Regions from separate parts of the Homo sapiens genome. Here all the other regions are linked to region 1. The links are contacts of gene promoters, found by promoter capture Hi-C in blood cells and fetal thymus (Javierre and others, 2016). All regions are on one chromosome and are shown on one strand. Each heading gives the region's core, a stretch centred on a gene start or on the middle of the fragment in contact. The rest is flanking DNA. Distances are from core to core; before and after follow the strand shown.

Region 1 (3,488 bases), core at 879-3,378:
GAGAAAGGAATACCTTTACTTTGAGGTATTAAATGGCTCAGCTCTGGGATATGAAACTTTTTAAGTATCTTTAAGCAATCAGTGTTCAAATCAAAGAGTGAGATGCGTAATCTGACCTGTTAAAATCACAAAATCAGGCTGGGCATTAGATAATGCCTTTCAGTTTAATCACTCGCTGCCTGGATTCTGGAAAATGTTGCTATATAAAACACATAATGTATGAATAGAAGTATATGGTAACTGACAGACTTTTGTTATACAGTGTGATAAAGTGAATAGAACATTAGAATACTAACCGCATGATTTTGACTTTGGTCTCAGTTTGTCAGTTGGGGCCTTAGTTTCTTTACATTAAAGGAGAAGACTAAACTAAGTTTATTCTTTCAAAAGACCCTTTACTAGGTGTCCTTGTCTACATTTCCAAAATATTGGACTTGTCCATGACCAAACAGGTGGGAATGAAGGCCATTATTTTGATTATTTTTCTCTTTTAAGAATTTCCAGAAATATGTTCTTTGTAGATAAAGAATTACATATTTGTAGAGTTCTAAGCGTTCTTAAAATTCATTTTGCCCAACTCCTTCCTTTCCTAAAGGAGACAACAGAAGCTGCAGAAATAGCCTCTCTGTTATTATTACATAGCAGCAGTCTCCTGTCTTTAAATATTTGAACTAAACACATTTTACATTTTAATGAATTTAATTTACAGTGTGATGTCCAGTATTGGGATTGCATACTATTTCTTAAAACTTCTTAGAACTGTTAGCTCTAATATATCAAATTTCTTGTTGGGAGTAAGACTGCAAGTTAAAAAAAAAAATTAGAACCTTAGTTTGGAGGAACCTTAAAGGTCATGTCAACTGAAAAAATACGAAAGGAATGGTACTGAAAGGCATGAACATAACAGAGATTGAATGCTTTCTCCAGGTGGAGAGACTCCACAGTCTGGCAGGGACTTTTTGTCCTATTTAAAAATATAGCTAACACCAGTTTGGTGTTCTCTTTGGATGACAAGAGGGATCTGTCGTTTTAATGTCTTCTCTCGCAGCCCCCTCACCGCAGCCCCCTCACACCTGTGAGGCTTCTTTGACGTTGAGCGTGCACAACCCGCTGCCAGTCCGCGGTTCCCAAGTGCCCGCGCAGCCAGCTTGCAGGGGAGTTGTGCGCGGTGGCTACAGCCTGTTGATCCCACTTCCTCCTGCTCTAGTCCGGGCTAGGGAGTGGCTCTGCCAGGACTTCCAAGGCTTTTTGTCTCGGGTACTGGTGTTCGCATGGCTCGAGTGTATTGTTTTCTTCCAGGCAATCTCGGTTAGCGCTTCAGCTTAGACACTTCTTGTGCGTTCTGTCGTCTTGGGCTGCGTGTAGTCTCTTGTTTCTGCGCTTTCTCCACGCCCTTCCCAGTTTCCTGTTAGCCGAAGGGGATCGCTCTTTCTGAACGAAAAGTTCTCAGAGCGGAGCTGAACCTCCCGGAAAATGCTCTTCTCTTCCGTGTGCGCCGGATGGGGGTGGGGGTGGGCCAGAAACTGAACGCCGCCGTCAGGAGAGCTGAGGGGACCCGACGGCCCTGGCGGAGGCGGGAGAGGTACGGTCCTCGGAGTGGGGCTGGGGGTGGGGAAACCGACGAGGGGCAGCCCCCGACTGTCTTGGTGGCAGAGGGGACTTTTATTCAGCTGGAACCGCGCGGCGAGGCCCAAGTGTCTCTGGAGAGATTCGGGGTTCAGGAGGTGGCGGGTGCACCCAAGGGTGCTGGGAGGAAGCTCCAGGTTCCCATTCTTCCCCAGGGATCGGCGTTGCCCCTGCTGTCCAGAAGTGAGAGGGGGTGTGCGGGCATCGCCACTACGGGGTGGGCTGCAGAGGTTTCCTGCCTCCCCCACCCTCCTGTCCATCCTAGGGACCCAGACCGTAAGGGAGTGGAAGAGATGTTGCTCCAAACCCTGTCACCCCATCCTCTCTACCCGCGCTGGTCCTATCCGAGGCTGGGTGCGCAGGGGTCCGAGGCGGGCGGGGGTCCGTTACCTCTGCGTCCCACCGTGGCCGCCGCTCCGGCGGGAACCGAGCGGAGGAGCCGGGTGGACCCCTGCCTGGAGGGCGCCTGCCCCGGGCGACCCTTACCTCGCGGGGGTAGCTAGGGAAACGGAAGATGGCGGCGGCGGCCGGGCACGGGGTTCCGGGCTCCGCTCGGGCAGAGCCCACCCGCTGACCAACGCCGCCGCCCCCGCCGGGCGGTGCTGTGTCCCCGCAGGAGTCGGAGAGGATGGCAGGGGCCGGAGGCCAGCACCACCCTCCGGGCGCCGCTGGAGGAGCGGCCGCCGGAGCCGGCGCCGCGGTCACCTCCGCCGCTGCCTCGGCGGGGCCGGGAGAGGATTCGTCTGACAGCGAAGCGGAGCAAGAGGGACCCCAGAAACTGATCCGCAAAGTGTCTACCTCGGGGCAGATCCGGACCAAGGTAGGGCGGAGGAGGCGGGCCTGAGGGCCGCGTGGAAAGCGGGAGGTGGAGAGGGCGCGGGGGCGCTGGAACGCGCCGGGCGATCCCGGGAAGGCGGGGAAGGCGGGGAAGGCGGGGAAGGCGGGGAAGGCGGGGAAGGCGGGGAAGGCGGGGAAGGCGGGGAAGGCGGGGATGGTGAGACGGTGAGGCGGGGCGGGGCCTGGGGCGCGGGCGGGGCGGGGAGGGGTGGGGCGGGGCCCGGGGGCGCTGGACCGCGGTGCTGCGGGACGGATTCCCGGCGGCTGCGCGGGAGGCTGCGAGCCTGGGCTCCCAGGGAGTTCGACTGGCAGAGGCGGGTGCAGGGAACCCGCGGCTCGGCGGGAGCGTGGGAAAAAGCTGACGCGCAGTCGCGAGTTCCTACTTAGGGAACTTAAAAGGAGAGTTTCAATTTTTCTTCCCTGCCGTTCGGGGGAGCGTGCGCATGTGCTGGCCAACCAGCCTGCGCTGCAGTGAGCCCTGCTGCTTTCCCACTTAGGCCCACTCAGAGGGTGGGTGGAAGGTGACACCGGTCAGCCTTTCCTGCCCCTCTGCCTCCTGCTGCGGTCTGGAAGGCAGAAGCCCCGAGGCAGGCAAGTGGGACATGGTGTTCGCGGCTTAACCGCACCCTGCATGGCTCCAAGGGCTGGCCAGGCTTTCGTGTCGCAGGTTCCCGCCAAGTGCAGGCAGGGTTCAGAACCATGCGTCCATGGTTCTTTTTAATAATGAGAAGTTACCTCTGTGCTGTGTGGACATTAGGATGGTGTGTTACTCTTGTTAATGAAGCTTGTGCTGTCGACCTGTGAGGTCTCAAAGTTAATTTTTAATTTGATCATGAACATACCAAAGCAAATGCTTATGGATATTAAAGGATTTTTATGTATTCTAATTTTCATTGTAATTTAAAAATCTTCACAGAGAGAGTCTGTTATCAGTAGGGAAATTTAACGAGGATATTGAAAACGGAACCACAAAATCATTGGCTTGGGGTACCGTTTTTAAAAATAAATTTGCAAAAAATTCATTC
Region 2 (3,459 bases), core at 461-2,960, 240 kb before region 1:
TTCTGGTGATGCTGGGACCAAAAATTAATTTTAAAAGATAATATGTTGTATTAAATAAGTTCTAATCAGTGAAGGCAAGGCTGAAATAGCTCTACATTCAGACCAATATATTTTGAAGAATTGGGAATATGCACCATCAGTTAAACTTATCTTATAGTTTTAGTGAAGATCCAGAAACTTACACGCAGTGAGAAAGAATATGTTTACCTGGAAAGGCAGGCTTTAGTAACAGCACTGTGAAGATTTTCATTAGGATACTGTGACAGCCGACGAGAAATTCGCAACAGTTGTCTGGTAGAAAGTGATGCCGCTAATGATTGTGCCTATCAAAAGACAAATACATTGTGTTAAGAGTCTTGTTTCAACTTGCTAAAGTCCCTTTAGATGGATATCACAGCAGAATTCATTATTACTGAAGGGGTAAGGCCAAACTTAAAGTATGTGCTGTTAATTAATTACAAATCAAAATAAACAGAAACCAATTTACACTTAAAACATCCTTGAAGATAGTTTTTAAAAAATCTAAAGTATTTATCAATTAAATTTAATTAATGTATTTTAATTGTGCTAAGTTGGAGATGGGAGGGGCAATGGGGGAAGGATGTTACATAACAAAGGTCACACTGGACTTAGGCTGTATGATTGACTGTTCACTTTTTCTCCTTACACAAAGCCAAGGTGTTAAGATACCACGGAAATGTTTAAAGCTTTAAGCAAATCGGTGGTTTCTAAAATAGCCAAAAAGAGTTGTAAACAATTTAGGCTGTTGGCCACAGAGGTGTCAACCAATTTGTCACTTGTGCTGCAGCTTGCTGTTTTGAATCCTTCCCCTATGCTGTCAGAATACTTTCACTTTGCTATATTACATTTCCCAAAATTCCACGAATAGAGTTGCTAGTACAGAACTCAGGACATGGTCAGTACTCAATAAATATTTGTTGAAATTCTTTTGGCAGGCAGCATAACATAATGGTAAAGTTTATAGGCTTTTGAATCAGATAAGTCGGTATCCTATTTATTAGCTGTGTTACCTTGGCAAATTACTTAACCTTTCCAAGGCTCAGTTCCCTCAACTTTAAAATGGCAATAGTAATGCCCTCACCTTTAAGGTTGTTATGAAGGTTAAATTAGAAAATGATTCTAAAGTGCTTAGCACATGTCACACACATATGGGTGCTCAACGAATGGCAACAACTGTTATTTAAAAATCAGCCTCTTCAAAATGAAAACAAAAAACCCAGCAGAGAAAGGTGATGGGACCTACATATTAGCATATATTTAGTAAATGAGATTATTACTGGCCTAATTCCTAACTTAGATCAGCAGCATTAGAAGACAGTGATTATCACTGAAAACCACAGGACAGAAGCACTTTTGAAGCAACTGGACCTTTGGGAGGGCAAGGCAGGTCAGTATGAAATGTCACAGAGGGTGATAAGGGCAGTAAAGTGGCCCTGAGAACTCAAGGGCCTAGAAAAGAGGACTCTATGAAATTAACAAAGGGTTCAGAATGGATGAGGGGAGAATGTCAAAGACACACTGCACATTTGCTTGTTTTAATGTTCCACCTAAGGTCATCTCCGTATGTCCCAAAGAAGAAAAAAATAATTTATTTATCCTTCCTTGTGTATTTCACATCTCCATAAGATATTGGTTTGCTGTTAGTATTCTATCTCAGCTACAACATTAGTATTATATTTCCTTTGGGAATTAGGTTGGAAGCATGACCACCACATATCCTTTCTTCTATTAAAAAACACATTCTAAGTTTCAAAGAACTCAATTACAAGCAGACATTGGTCCATTCTTGTTTTCAATTAATTTGCATTCCAGATATGGAGACAATATTCAAATATAATAAATCATAAATTACAATTCAAAATAGTATATACTTCAATGCTAAAATAAGTGGAACAGTAGACAGCTGTTATAGGCAGTTAAAATATTCAAATGGGCATGAGAAATCCTCTCATCAAAGGCATGAAAGCAAAAGTAATGGAACCACAAGTAGAACATGAGGAAATGAGACCAGCTTTACTAGAAGGTCCTGCTGGAAGGCTTGCTCTCAAACAACAAAGACCTATGAATGACACTCTGACGGGTTTGGCTTTATTCTTAAAGGCACTAGGATTCTGCTATGTGTAAAGTCGTAACATGATTTTCAAATCAGGTTATTACTAGCCTACTTCCTAATTTAAATCAGCAGCAGCATAGAAAGTGGATGAAGGACAGAGAGAACTGAGACAGGAAACAGAAAGCTACTTCAATAATCTGCCTATAAAAGGAAAAAGTCCTACAGTAAGGTTATGGCAACAAGAATGGAGAGGTAGGATACAACAAACTTGGCAACTGACTTGCTATGAGAAAGAAACATGTATTGAGGATAAAATTCAGGCAATGTGACTGATATCAAAAGTCAAATATAACTCAGAAATTCCCATTTTTAATACCTAGGACCATGAAAAATTCATATTTTAATCATAAAAAATATTTGACAAATGACTCTAACCAGAGGATTCTTATAAGAGTCCTGTTAAACCATAGGGTATAACATTCTAATCTCATTCTAAGCATGACACTGAATTCAGGCTTCACATTTCATTCCAGTCATCAATAAGGAATGCTCATATATTTGAACACCAATTCTCCAGTTCTTCTAGTTGAAAGCACCAAAATGCTTTGCAGTAATAACCAGGGTTGAGAAAATGAGAGATAAGCTTTGTGTTGAGCCATTTAAGTGTTGAATAAAGGGTTTGGTAATCTCTGCTCTCACATTATTATCAATTAAAAATTGAGAGTATACTTTAAAAATTCCTAATGTATTTAACATTTATATCAAATTTCTAACTGCAGTTTTATCTTGCAAAAAAAAAGGGGGGCGGTGAAGATATGAAGCACATTCCCCTAGTTACCATGGTTATACAGTTTAAGAGTACACCTCGAAGGGGTTGTTCATATTAACATGATTAGTAATACTTCAGCTTAAAAACATAAAGGTTCTCATCAGAAATTATTAAACATTATTTTTCTATTCTTCATTTTTATAAAAGAATGAAAATGTAGCATGTTCTAAAGGAGAGAAAACTCTAGGGACAATCTGTTAATAAAATTTTAATTAATCAATTTATTCATTAATTCACCAAAGATTTAAGTGTCTATTATGTGCCAGGCCGCAGGCTGGGAAATGGGACTTAGTCTCAAGGAGCTCAAATAGCAACTGGGGAAATAAAAGTAAATTATAATACAACTGCAATAGGTCAACAATATATAATACAACTTGCAAATATATGTCAAGTGTCATGAAAGCAGATTGGAGATATTAGTTACTGCTGCCTAAGGGGGCTGAGAGAGACTTAAGAGAAGAGAGAAACTAAGGGACAACTGGATGTAGGGAAAGCACATTCTAGGCATTATCTAAGGCAGAGACATTTGAGTATAAGCGGTATTAGAAAATAGCAA
Region 3 (3,164 bases), core at 137-2,636, 160 kb before region 1:
CAGTAAAAATCTGGGAGGTGTTTTGACAAAGTCTAAAACAGAAGAGTGTTGTAAAGCTGTAAATTCATGACTCTAGCAATTTACCCAAGATAAGGGCCATCTGAACATCTGTCCTGATTCCAACAGAGCCATGTCTTACACAATAAAATGGCACTGCCCATAGCTTGACAGCAAAGACAAAGCAACAGGATTTTCTTTTCTTACTCGGAGAAGTTTGTCGTAACGCTCAGCAGACATCAGGAAGCGTCCATCTTCAAGCTGCATCTCTCTGTTTTCCAGCAAGTTGTTCAAAACAGGCAAAACATTCCTCTCTGCCTTTTCCAAACCTTCCAAAATGAGAGTTCTGCCTTCTGTGGCTGCACGAACTGCACACTATTTCCAAGAAACGTAAAAGCAAAATGAGAATACTGAAGTTGCAGAGCTTGGCCTAACATTACTTGTAATTCAAATTTAAGTTGCAGTTCTTGTTATAGGGACCAGAAATCAATAAAGCTGAGTTCCAGATCTTGTTTTGCTTTTTCTGCCTATATGATCTTAGGAAAGTGATTTTACCTCTTTGGGCCTGTTTATTCGTTTGTAAAATAAAGGGATTGAAAAAAGAGGATCGCTGAAGTTCCTTTCAGCCTTGATATTTTAGATTATATACCCAATGAAATAAAAAACTAACAGCTATCTATGAACAAGGAACATAATTAAACAAGGGCACAGATTCCACAACTGGAAAAGAAAAATGAAGACAGTTATCTGCCCTACCTATCCCACAAGCTTCTTGTAAGGATCAAAAAAGCTAGGTGAGAAGGCTTGGAGACTGTAACATTTGTAAACATAAGTCATCATCCAAATAAATTGAGGTTTTGTGTGATGATGCTGACAACATTACACACTTAGAAACAGAAAAAGAATCAGATTTTACATTGGCCAATAGCAGACTGACTTAACCAGTACTACAAGTCTTCCAATAAATTTTAAGAAAATTAGTAATGGAGAAAATTAGGAAATAAAGTAAACTGTAATACAAAAAAATTACTATAGATATGAAAAAAATATTTTCCTTTAACTATAGGTCCTTAATAACATAGAAAACTACTTTTTGTCAAAATCCTTCATGTTCTGCTAAAAAAGGAAAACCTGTCATGTTTCTTCTGCACATTCAACCACAGACAGAGGATTAATGGTGCTAAATTTATACTGTTATTCCCTCCCTTAAAACTCGCCTTCATTAGTCTCCATGGCACTGCATTGTCCTAGGAAAATTGTTTTGTCTTCTGTGCCTGTCCATTAAATGTAGATGATGGCCAGAATTACATCCTTAACACACAGCTCTTCTTACCCTACTAGGACCTCCCTGAAAATCTTATTCAATCACATAGTTCCAACTACCACCTTTATGCTAATGACCCCCCAGAATCTTGGGGTTCTGAAACTCCCCCTCATTAGTACCTCATATGGGGTCCCTCAGACCCCATGAGCACCTCAGGTCCCTTGTACAAAACTGAAAATATCCTATTTTCTCCAAACCTGCTTCTCTTCTTTATTTTCTATCTGGGGTGTGAGCACCATTGACCCAGGTCAGAGCCCTTGATGTTTCTTGAACTCATCCCTTTCTACCCCTTCCCTAGTTCAAGCTCTCCTTACCTCTCAGATCACCTCCCAATAGTCCAAGCTCCTTAATTTGGCATATTAGCCTATCACAATGCAGCATCTACCTACCTCTCCAACACCATCTCCTGATATTAGTTGCCTCACATGTGGTATTTCTGTGACAATAAACTGGTTATCTCCTTCTACACATGTACATACCATACTGCTTTACCAGAAAAATGTCTTTACTTATACTGACCCCTCACTTAAAATTTAATTTTCCCTATAGTAATTGTCCAAAAAAAGGATCTAAATGTTTGATGAGGGGAAAACATATCTCTATTTTTTTAAGACTTAATATCCAAATAAATTTCTGGAGTAGCAATGTACTGATTTTCCAAGTGTAGAAAAGAGGCATTGCTTAATCAAGCTTGCATACTATCCTCTTTTAATACACTGTTGAATTTTGCACTGTATAGTAGAGCTTAGTTTATTTCAAGTGTCTACATAATGTTGTAAAATGATAAACTTTATGAAAGCCATATTAGACTCAAGAGAATCATCCATTTTAAGATCATTTCATGAATAATCCCTCAAATATATCATTACTGCAATATTTTAATTCTCTTCTACCAGAGTAGCCATCTTGTTCTAGAAGCTTTATTTAAAAAAAAAAAAAAAAGCATGGGTAGAAGTGACTTAGTAGTTTCTAAAGAACAACAACAAAAAAAAGAATCTCATTTTTGCTAGCTGTATAAAGGACAAAGTCGTAGAAATAGATTCTGGGATATTAAAAGTCAAAATATTGGCCGGGCTCAGTGGCTCATGCCTATAATCTCAGCATTTTGGGAGGCTGAGGAGGGTGGATCACAAGGTCAGAAGTTCAAGACCAGCCTGGCCAATATTGTGAAACCCCGTCTCTACTAGAAATACAAAAATTAGCCAAGTGTGGTGGCGGGCGCCTGTAATCCTAGCTACGTGGGAGGCTGAGGCAGGAGAATGACTTGAACCCAGGAGGCAGAGGTTGCAATGAGCCAAGATCGCACCCCTACACTCCAGCCTGGGCGACAGAGCAAGAATACAAACTACTTCTTATAAAAATTCACATTTCAGTTAAGGTTTCAATTAAGCTTTTGCTCGCAAAAATATATTTACTTCAAGAAAGCACAGCTCAGAACAAAAAAGAAATTAATTGTTATCATAATCTAGGGTAATATTATTTTAAGAAATCTAAAACTTTTAGCAATCTTTCTTATACGACAGACTAAATATTGCATTTGACTTTTTAAAAACTCCATAGGGATGAAAACCCACATTCTTTGAGATAAAACTAGAAATATACAGATCAAAATGTAATGGTTCACCATCTATGGGCCACAAAAAGCAAAGTCTTGACAACATAGGACAACAACAAACACTGCAGCTCCACTTTCATTCACCTCAGGTGTACTGTGGTCTGCTATGCATTGAATCTCTTCAAAGGAATTCAGAACAAGCTATGCAGAGAGATCAAAAACAGAAGCTAAATACACAAGGTTTTTTTTCCATCTACTCTAATGGCAGTACTGTGACCACAAAGTTGA
Region 4 (3,637 bases), core at 429-2,928, 180 kb before region 1:
CCTGGCCAATATGGTGAAACCCCATCTCTACAAAAATACAAAAAAATTAGCTGGGCATGGTGGTGCGCAACTGTGATCCCAACTACTCAGGGGGCTGAGGTAGGAGAATCGCTTGAACCCAGGAGGCGGAGGTTGCAGTGAGCCAAGATTGCGCCACTGCACTGCAGCCTGGGCAACAGAGCGAGACTCTGTCCCAAAAAAAAAAATATATATATATATATATGTGTGTGTGTGTGCGCGTGTGTGTGTGTATATGTGTGTGTGTGTGTGTAAAACATGCATGTTTTTCTCAAAATATCAGTAACTTAAAGTATATAACTGCCACTTAAAAGCCTCCAACTAATAGCTTGCTCAATTTAATTCTTTACTGTTTTTGATATTTCAATAGAGCAGCAACTATTTTTTCATTTAATAGATCTGATGATCATTATTACAAATCTTCCAAATCAATTATTTCCCTAAAATTAAAGTCCCACATTATCAGATGTATTCATAAAAATCATGTCATCTTAATGCTATTTATAACTTATAGTAAAGATATTACTACTGGAGAATAAATTTTTTTCCCAAAATTCTAGTTGTAAGCACAGAATTTAATGTTAGTCCACTGGAATCTCTAAAGTCACCAATGACCTCCTGATTTCTAAAAGTCAAGTCCACAAATCCTTTTCAGGTTTATCTTAGTTTACCACTGAGAGGCATCTGTTCACATATTCTCTCTTCCCATCTTTTACATCTACTTCTCATTTTATTTTTTGTCTTCCCCTTTTATTATTTATCCTCCACTATTAGTTCCCAAGGAGCCATGTTCTGATGAGGACTCTGGGCTGGATCATGTTATATACCACACGAACCAAAGAATTCTAAGTTTGGAAGTGACAGGATCAGATTTGCATTTAAGAATTTAACCTGGTATCAACATGGAAAGCTAACTGGAAGAGACTAGAGGCAATGAGGTTAAAAAGCCATTACCAAAGGGAAGCAAATAATGAAGTCTTGTTCATACCTCATGCTTCTGAACATATTGTTTAAACTGCCAAAAATGTTCTATCCACTCCTGAGCCACTTGAAAAATCCTATATTATTCTTGCAGGCTTAGCTCAAGCTTCATCTTCTCTCTGAAGCTTTCCCTATTCCGTCTCCTGAATCCCAGTATTACTTTCTTCTCCATATCCCCAGTCATTCCAATGCAGTCTTAACTCGTCTGCCTCTATCCTAAACTATCAGCTAGATGAACCATTCATCTGAACAAAACAGAGAGTATAGTGGGGAACTGTCCCTGTCTAGAAATCCCAGCTGTGCCATCTCCTAGCTGCTGTCTCTGGGTGAATCATTAACCTCTTTACATCTCAGTTTTCTAATCTACAAAATGGAGATAATAAAACTTACCTTAATGGATCTTGCGGGATTTAAATCGTGTAATATATGCAGAGACAAATACAGTAAATAGTACACAGTAAACTCATAATATGGAACCTAGCTCATGGTGGATATAATCAATATTCAGTTCAATGAATAAGTACAGTAACATGAATTAATATTAATAATATCAAATATTAAAACAAAAAAGTTTATCATGAGCTGGGCACAGTGGCATGTGCCTGTAGTCCCAGCTACTCAGGAGGCTAAGGCAGGAGTATTGTTTGAGCTCAGGAATTCAAAACAAGCCTGGGCAATATAGTAAGACTCCATAAAATGTGTGTATATATACACATATAGATATATATAGAAGGAGCTGATATATATATAACATATATACATGCAGATGGAGCTCTATGACCAAATATTATTTCCCTCTCTAAAAACAATTCAACCAGAGCAGATCCTTTTTAAACCGTTTCACATAGCTAAGAAAGATTTTACTTGAAAATAGGTCTCTGTAGCAGCTCAAATGTTTGAAAACACTATTTCTTACCAAGGACTCATAGCACAAAATGCTGTCAGTAATCAGCCTGTGACTTGATTTTCCCACAGGTCAACTTTGAATTTTTGATGAAAGGCTTTCCCTATGTTTCTCCTGAACTTTTCCAGTTTATAAGCACACATGACTCTGGAGACATAGACATATAGATACCGACAGAAGCAGTACTATCAAGAGAGAAGACTTACAAGGAGATCATAAACCCAATTTAGGTCATAAAAACAGGCAGAATAAGGTATATCATAGAAAGAATAAACCTGTGATTAATTACCTTAATGGTCACCTCTTTATCTGCAATCCGGATGGTCACAGAAGCTTGGGACACATGGTTTTCCATCATCTTCTCTACTTTTACAATCTCTTTAGGAAGTAGAGAGCTTCCTGAATCTTGAAGTTCAAAGCGCTGTAAAATTACAAGAAAATCATGCAATTTACTTTTCATTTTAGCATTAACATTGGCTATCTGACAGATTACACCTTAATTACAAGTGAAATCCATTTTATATTATTATATAAAAGTAGAGGTTAGGCCAAGGGCGGTGGCTCAGGCCTGTTAATCCCAGAACTTTGGGAGGCCAAGGCGGGCGGATCAGAGGGTCAGGAGATCGAGACCATCCTGGCTAACACGGTGAAACCCCGTCTCTACTAAAAAATAGAAAAAAAATTAGCTGGGCGTGGTGGCGGGCACCTGTAGTACCAGCTACTCGGGAGGCTGAGGCAAGAGAATGGCGTGAACCCGGGAGGTGGAGCTTGCAGTGAGCCGAGATCGCGCCACTGCACTCCAGCATGGGCAAAACGGCAAGACTCCGTCTCAAAAAAAAAAAAAAAAAAAGGAAAAAAAAAAAGTAGAGGTTAAAAAAAGTTAACGAAAATTTTTTTCTATTCCTACTAATACCATTCTACTTACAATAATTATTAAAGATCATATTAAAATAGTCCCTAAAATTTACTAAATGACAAGAAATGGAATCACTGAATTCCTGACCTGGTAGAAGTTCATAGTTTACATTTCTTGACAATCAACTTCCTAGAAGGAGATGATGAGACCCTTCAAAATATGCTGAAATAGGCCCATATTGGTTTATTCTTTAAATCAATCGAAGTTAATGTGTTACCTGAAATTCATGAAAACAGAACTTCTTGGCCATCATTCTGCTGTCAGCTATGTGAATAGCTTAACTAAAATTATTATAACAATTTTCCACAGCATATGGTACAGTGCTTTCTACACTATAGGGGTCTCAATATTTGTTGAACTGGATTTAAAAGGCTAGAACCACCAGGCACAGTAGCTCATGCCTGTAATCCCAGCACTTTGGGACGCCAAGGCAAGCGGATCACCTGAGGTCAGGAGTTCGACACGAGCCTGGCCAACATGGTGAAACCCTGTCTACTAAAAATACAAAAATTAGCTGGGCATGGTGGCACGCACCTGTAGTCCCAGCTACTTGGGAGGCTGAGGCACGAGAATCCCTTGAACCCAGAGACAGAGGTTGCAGTGAACTGAGATTGTGCCACTGCACTCCAGCCTGGGCAACAGAGCGAAAACTTTGTCTCAAAAAAAAAAAAAAAAAAAAAAAAAAAAAGGCTAGAACCATTGATTCTTGATGTGGCCCAATTATCAACGTTCTAACATTGACTACACCACTTCATTCCAGCTAGCTATATCAAAACTACACAGAAAGAATACAGGTAAGTATGTGAAAGATGAAAATA

Evidence for each region. The method cuts DNA at HindIII sites, captures the fragments that hold promoters and counts their contacts. A CHiCAGO score of 5 or more calls a contact.
Region 2: a contact is called between a fragment that was not itself captured here and the fragment with the promoter of DGKH in region 1, in 3 of 17 cell types (M0 macrophages, M1 macrophages and M2 macrophages). The highest score is 5.7, in M0 macrophages.
Region 3: a fragment that was not itself captured here is called in contact with the fragment with the promoter of DGKH in region 1 in 1 of 17 cell types (M1 macrophages); the score reaches 6.0 in M1 macrophages.
Region 4: a fragment that was not itself captured here is called in contact with the fragment with the promoter of DGKH in region 1 in 2 of 17 cell types (M1 macrophages and M0 macrophages); the score reaches 6.8 in M1 macrophages.

Annotation. Positions count from the first base shown.
Region 1 is chr13:42,046,520-42,050,007 of GRCh38, forward strand. DGKH (diacylglycerol kinase eta) reads left to right here and starts at 2,129. Exons shown (of 30, transcript NM_178009.5): 1 at 2,129-2,446. The coding sequence starts at 2,255. RefSeq lists an enhancer at 1,276-1,365 and a silencer at 1,906-2,435. The HindIII fragment of the contact is 8,345 bases long and covers 1-3,245 here.
Region 2 is chr13:41,811,018-41,814,476 of GRCh38, forward strand. VWA8 (von Willebrand factor A domain containing 8) reads right to left here. Exons shown (of 45, transcript NM_015058.2): 17 at 208-323. Among named protein-coding and RNA genes, the nearest start is that of VWA8, 150 kb to the right of the region's middle. RefSeq lists an enhancer at 1,895-1,944. The HindIII fragment of the contact is 2,010 bases long and covers 706-2,715 here.
Region 3 is chr13:41,891,216-41,894,379 of GRCh38, forward strand. It overlaps VWA8 (von Willebrand factor A domain containing 8), which reads right to left. Exons shown (of 45, transcript NM_015058.2): 5 at 205-372. Among named protein-coding and RNA genes, the nearest start is that of VWA8, 68 kb to the right of the region's middle. The HindIII fragment of the contact is 1,246 bases long and covers 764-2,009 here.
Region 4 is chr13:41,866,154-41,869,790 of GRCh38, forward strand. VWA8 (von Willebrand factor A domain containing 8) reads right to left here. Exons shown (of 45, transcript NM_015058.2): 10 at 2,193-2,324. Among named protein-coding and RNA genes, the nearest start is that of VWA8, 93 kb to the right of the region's middle. The HindIII fragment of the contact is 1,112 bases long and covers 1,123-2,234 here.